2 separate regions of the Homo sapiens genome follow, and region 1 is linked to region 2. The links are contacts of gene promoters, found by promoter capture Hi-C in human tissues and cell types (Jung and others, 2019). All regions are on one chromosome and are shown on one strand. Each heading gives the region's core, a stretch centred on a gene start or on the middle of the fragment in contact. The rest is flanking DNA. Distances are from core to core; before and after follow the strand shown.

What was found. Contacts are between HindIII fragments. The study calls those that stand out against the background at their distance.
Region 1: a contact is called between a fragment that was not itself captured here and the fragment with the promoter of OR2B2 in region 2, in 1 of the 25 tissues and cell types used here (pancreas).

Annotation. Positions count from the first base shown.
Region 1 is chr6:27,950,584-27,954,116 of GRCh38, forward strand. No RefSeq gene overlaps it. Among named protein-coding and RNA genes, the nearest start is that of OR2B6, 4.9 kb to the right of the region's middle. The HindIII fragment of the contact is 4,792 bases long and covers 1-3,533 here.
Region 2 is chr6:27,910,716-27,914,228 of GRCh38, forward strand. OR2B2 (olfactory receptor family 2 subfamily B member 2) reads right to left here and starts at 1,681. Exons shown (of 1, transcript NM_033057.2): 1 at 470-1,681. The coding sequence starts at 1,604. The coding sequence ends at 531. The HindIII fragment of the contact is 12,366 bases long and covers 1-3,513 here.

The sequences.
Region 1 (3,533 bases), core at 93-2,592, 40 kb after region 2:
TATAAACATTTTCCTCTGACTAATCCCGCCCTCACGCTCACTCTTACTTTCAGAGATAAGCACTGTTATTAGTTTGGGAAGGTTTTAAATGCTATACATTATTTTTTGTGGATTACATCTTAGTCTTTTTCCCTGGTTTACTTGATGCCCCTTCCTTCTCCCTTCACAGCTATCAGCCTCTGTGCTCCAGATTGCCCACATGAAGGAGCTAACAAGTGTTCTTTATTCTTCTTCACTCTCGTATAATTCCATGCAGGCGCACAATACATACAGTTATATTGAGAGTGTTTTAGTCATTGTTTATATAATTAAGATCATGTTATTTATTCTTTTTTACATCTTCATTTTCTCACTCAGCAACATCACAGGCAAATACTTCTGGATTAGGTTAATTACTAGTCAATTTCCTATTGAGAAACTAATTTTTTCTCTACTTTGGCCACCACAAACATTGCTACAATAAAAATTATTGTTTCTACGATTTGTGTACCAGTATATTTTATTCCATAGGATAGATTTCCATGAATGCCATTGCTATGTTGATGAACAGAGTATTTTTTTCAAGATTAACTGCCCTATTTATTTCTAAAATGTCAGTGACACTTTGAATTTCTAACCATAATTTATGAGAGGTTTTTTCCTTCAGCAACATTCAGGAGTTACTGCTAGTTACATTGTTTTTTCAATCTGATAAGTGACTCATCATTACTACTTTAATATATTTGTCTGAATATTTGGGAATTTAAAATCTTATATAGATTTGCTATTCTGAGTTCACAGTATGTATATGGTCATATTATTTAGCATTTTTTCAATTGTGTTATTTGTGTTTTTCTTGGGCTTTATAAAAACTCTATTTATATTGTAGATACCAACCTTTTACATAACCACAAATATATTTTCTCATATCTACTCATCCTTGAAAGCTGAGGAAACTATATATTAGAATGTATAAAAACAAATCCTGTATAGAAAAACTATAGAAAAATATAAATCTCTTTTTAATCTTGGAAAAAAATCTAGGAAATTACATTGACCCGAAGAGCTTTTCAACTAAGGCTAGAAATTCAAAATCTATGAAAGAAAAGAAGCCTATTTGGATATATAATGAAGAAAACTACTTTATGTAAATCAAGGTAAAAATATTTCTACATCAAATTAACTGGAAGCCTATTTTATTGCATAGATACTGACCTCAGGATTTCAGAGTAAATGGACAGTTTTCTGTGGCTTGACAGAACTTGATTAGTAAAAAGGAAACGAACACTCAGTTTAATGGCACAAAATCCAGACTTTATTTGATAAAGTATTTTAGTCCCTGCTGTCGTTCCCTTTTGTCTCAGAAACAATTGAGGAGACAATCCCCAGAGAAAGGGTATCAGGGAGCAAATCTAAACTAAAATGAAGTATCACATCACAGAGATCTCCTCCTTCTCTCTTCCCATCAGATACCATGGTCAATTACCATAAACCACATGAGGGTTGTTATCTTCCCCTGTAAGCCAGAGAACACCCGACATTCAAAAATAGTTTCCTATCCCTCTCATTTATTTTGTAAACCTGGTGAGGAGAATTCTGGAAAGATCAATAAATACCTTCATACTTGGTAATATAATATCAGAAAAACATGTCTGATCATCTGTAATGCTTTGTACCTATTCTCATATTTTCTAAATTAATCCTGAATGGATATCTTATAATTTGCCACTTACAGCGTGAAACAAGGGAAAAATGAACAAACTTCACCATATCAGTTTTTACAATTAATAGCTTACGAAGAGGTTATTGAATCCACATGCCTCCAGTTCATCCTATTTGAATTTAAAGCTTCTTGGACACACAAATCATCCTATCACTAATGCTTAAAATAGAGGTATGTAGAACACATTTAAGAAATTTATTATATAAAACCTGCTAAAATTTGGGTGTTTTGAGCACTTATGGACGTTTATGATTATCTCACTCAGAAAAATTTGACTAAGGCTCCAGTTTCTTAATTCCATTTATTTGTTTTATACTGCTATTTGCAATGTTTTGTTATCTCTACTGGAAATTAAAACTTGAGAGCAGAGCAGTCTTAGATTTGAACCTTCTGTCTGCCTATGAAAATAATCTAGCCTATGAAAATAATCTCTCTGAACCTCTAAATTCAGATTTCTACCTGAATAATTAACCTTTTGTGAAACAGACAAAAAATATTGGCAAACTTTTCATCTATTCTAAGCCAAATTGCACTGTTGTGTGAAAAATTACTCCTAGTATTTATCCTTATACTCCAGCAGGAACATGGGGGTTCACTGTAGTATATTTAAAGCTTTTTATACATTCTCAGAGGTATGATAATTATAGAAAACTTAGAAGCAAACAATTTTTATGTCGAATGGAAAACAGAAAACTCTGGTGTTACCATAGATTAAACTGCTTCCCAAAGCCATTGAGTAACTTGCCCAGTAGTGAAGTGACTTAGTAGCAGCATCTAAACTACAGCTGTTGTCATATTTCTTATCTCAATGCTCACTGCATAGTAAACAGCTTAAAATAAAGTTTTCAGGACTTTGTTGAACCTCGTCATTCAGAATCCTCTGTCAGCCATATACTGAATAACTTCAGTATGTAGCTGATGGATGCAATCCCAACTAATATACAAGCAAACGGGTGGTGATTGTATTTATTCAGACAATAAAATTGAAATATCCTGAGTTATGTATAGATAAAAGTTCTAAAGGTCCAAATAACCCTTTTCAACTGTTGCTTTTTACAGTACTCAATTTTGTTTTTGCTTTGTTTGTTATGTTTTGTTTTGAGACAGGGTCTCTGTTGCCCAGGCTGGAGTGCAGTGGTGCGATCATGTCTCACTGCAGCCTCAACCTCCTGGGCTCAAACAATCCTCCCACATCAGCCTCCTGAGTAGCTGAAACTACAGGCGCATGCCACCACACTCAGCTAATTTTGTATTTTTGGTAGAGACAGGGTTTTGCCATGTTGCCCAGGCTGGACTGGACTCAAGCGATCTGCCTCAGCTTCCCAAAAATGCTGGGAATTCCCAGACTCAAGCAATCAGCCCCAGCTTCCCGCTGGGATTACAGGCAGGAGCCACTGTGCCTGGCCCAATACTCACTTTTTCTTACCTGCAGTTGTAAGATAGTTGCTATGCAATCTGATCCCTTTTGTCTCACATTATGAAAATATGTTCCTATGTTGACCAAAGGAAAGCTCGTTAACTCAAAATGAGAATGATATCCTCTGAAGATGCTGTAAACAGAATTCTATTCAGGACCAGAGAAATAGATTGTGTAGCCTTTTGCGATCTCAGCCATGACTGGGCACCACCATCAGCACAGGTGTAATCAGGTAAATAATTGGTTATGCTATCTGCGAGGATTTCAGAGATACAAGATTCCTACTTGTTTCCATTGTTAACAAGTCCTTCCAATCCAATGATAGTGATAAGAATAACAATTCAAATTACTTGAAACTTCTGTGTGCAAGATAATATTTCAACTTTTTTTTTTTTTTTTGAGATGGAGTCTCAC
Region 2 (3,513 bases), core at 431-2,930:
TTGAGACCTTAAAGATTTCAAGGCTATGCTATTTTGAGAGTTCATAAAAGATCAGTTCTTAAGACTTGTGCAATGAATATATTTAGGCAGTAGAAAACAGATATAGTTCTCTGTCGACATTTTATTTGAAGATCACTATAATAGTTTTTCTAAGAATAGTAATAATAAAGCAATTTGGAGAGAATTAAATTATAAGCTATGTAAAATTGAAGTCTTTAAAAGGCCTATAATTTGAGAATTCCTTTTTTTTTTATTAACACCCTTGCAAGCAACCTCTCAAAAGCTCCCTTTACATCTTTGTTTCTATGTGTGTGTGTGTATGTATGTATGTGTGTGTGCGTGTGTGTATTACTGAAGAGATGATTTCTGGATCAGAAAGGTCTAGTTTACACTGAATTGTACAAACATTGATGTAAAGTGTGACAACCCTTGAAAATGTTGTGATTACAGTTTTTGGTGCATTGGAAGGCCAATTCTGGGGGCTTGTTCAATGAAAATGTTTAGGCAACAGAAACAAATATAGCTTTTTGTCAAGGAAATTTTCTTTGAGGGAGATTACAATAGTTTTCTATAGTAATGACAAAAATAGGACAACTTGCGGAGAAGTTAGTAAGGTAAGTAAGCACTGTGTCTTTAGCAAAGCTTATCATTTGCATATTTCTTATTTCTTGATTAAGAAGACTCTTTGCAACCAACCTTTTAAAGGCTTCCTTTACCTCTTTGTTCCTAAGTGTATATATAAGGGGATTCAGCATGGGTGCAATGATTCCACAGAAGAGAGAAACCATCTTTCCCCGGTCTTTGGAGCTGGGTGAAGGTGGTTGCAGGTACATGGAGATAGCTGTACCATAAAAAAGTGACACCACAATTAGATGGGAGCCACATGTCCCAAATGCCTTTCGTTGACCTTCAGCAGACTGGATTCTCAACACTGCTTGGACAATAAAAGCATACGATATAAGGATGAGTGTCACGGGTATTAGAAGGAATAGCACACTGATGAAGAATAGTTCAGCCTCATTTGCTGTTGTGTCAACACAGGACAACTTGAGCAGAGCAGGGACTTCACAGAAGAAGTGATCCACTTCTTTGTGACCACACAGTGGCATCTTAAGTGTCCAGGTGGACTGTAATACTGAATTGCTAAAGCCACTAATCCAGGATGCAGCTGCCAACTGGAAGCAGAGCCTCTGGTGCATGATAATTGAGTAATGGAGAGGCCGACAAATAGCTACAAACCTATCAAAGCACATGACGGCCAGGAGAAGACATTCTGTGGAACCCAAGGCCAGGAAAATGAAAAGCTGGGCCACACAGCCACCATAACTGATTACTTTCCTGGTGTTGCATATGTTTACCAGCATTTGTGGAACTGTACTTGTGGTATAGCAAAGGTCCAGGAGTGAGAGATTGCTAAGAAAAAAGTACATAGGGGTGTGGAGTTTGAAATCCACATGTGACACAAGAATTATTGTCAGATTGCCAAAGATTGTCAAGATATAGGAAAACAGAAACATCACAAAGGGTGGAATCTCTAGCCATGGTTGATCTGAGAAAACTAACAGAATGAACTCCTGTGGGACACTCTTATTTACCCAATTCATGTTAAATGGTTCAACTCTTCGTTCTCTGAAATATAAGAAGTCAGGAAGTTAACAACACACTTCCTGATTTTGTCAGCTATAATCATTTTGCTATCAATTTACATAAAATTACAGACTGATCCAATTAATAATGTGAAAAAAGTATTGATAAAAATATAAATATTTATCCATCCAAGTATTTAAAAAGTGTTTATATATCTGTAACAGCATATTAGCAAATTGAATCGAATTTCAAGAATCTTTTTTTTTTTTTTTTTTTTTTTTTTTGAGGCAGAGTTTCACTCTTTTGCCCAGGCTGGAGTGCAATGGCGCCATCTCGGCTCACCGCAACCTCCGCCTCCCAGGTTCAAGCAATTCTCCTGCCTCAGCCTCCCCAGTAGGTGGGATCACAGGCATGTGCCACCACCCCGACTAATTTTGTATTTTTAGTAGCGATGGGGTTTCTCCACGTTGGTCAGGTTGGTCTCAAACCCCAACCTCAGGTGATCTGCCCACCTCAGCCTCCCAAAGTGCTGGGATTACAGGCGTGAGCCACTGTGCCCAGCCTAATTTCAAAAATCTTAAGCCATATTTTCAGTTTCCAAATTCACATAATGTATCCTTTGATATTTTACTGTTTGTAAATGTATTTTTCTCATTCTTCCTACCTAGATATCTACTGTGAGGTAGATGTAGATACAGTTTCCTGTCATTTGAATTCATTCTAATTTCTCTTCAAGGCCAGCGAGATTCCCTGATTGTAGAAATCAGTTAACATTAGTTAAAGCCACCTCCCATTATTCCCCTTCCCTCAAAAAAGCCATGTAGACAGTATCTAGTAAGTTATCAGACACAATTTAAGGAGACATATCCTTTTCGTTCTAGAAGCTCATAGAATTTGTATAGATTCCTTAGTAATATGATATTTGAAGGTGACAGGCTGGTCTCATATCCCTACCCTCTCTAATTAGTTACATTCATTATATTGGAATGCTTCTAACCCTTTGATCTCCACAATTCTCATTTGTAAAATGAAGATGATACAGTGGTTCCCCCTTTATCCATGGGGGATACATTCCAAGACCACCAGTGGATAGAAACCTGAAACTGTGGGTAGTACCAAACCCTATATATACTATGTTTTTTAATACATACACAACTATAACGTTTAATTTATAAATTAGGCACAGTAAGAGATTAAGAACAATAATTAATAAAATGCAGCAAGTATAACAGCTCCAGACCCCCATTTATTGTAATACATGTTATGTGAATGTGGTGTCCCTCTCTTTTTTTCTCTTCAAAACACCTTATTCTAGTGTACTCACCCCTCTGTGTTCTGACGATCTGATAACCGAGATGGCTACTCAGTGACTAACAGGCAGGTGGATGCTTTAAATCAAGCTTGTCCAACCTGAGGCCCACGGGCTGCATGCAGCCCAGGATGGCTTTGAACGCAGCCCAGGATGGCTTTGAACGTGGCCTAACACAAATTTGTAAACTTTCTTAAAACATCATGACATTCACTGATGATTAAAAAAAAACTCATCAGCTATTGTTAGTGTTGCTGTATTTTATGTGAGACCCAAGACAATTCTTCTTCTTCCAATGTGGCCCAGGGAAGCCAAAAGATTGGACACCCCTGCTCTAAACAGAAGGATGATTCCCATGACTGGGTGGGACAACACAAGACTTCATCAGGCTATTCAGAATGGCATGTATTTAAAACTTATGAATTGTTGACTTCTGTAATTTTCCTTTTAATATTTGCAGACCATGGTTGACTGTGGGTAACTGAAATTGTGCAAAGCAAAACCACAGATAAGGAAGGACTACTGTAATGTTTTTCTAAGTTGTCTTGATGTGAAGTATAAATGATGTGAGGTATTAACGCACACACCTACCCTAGACTTACACCTTTAGAAATGGA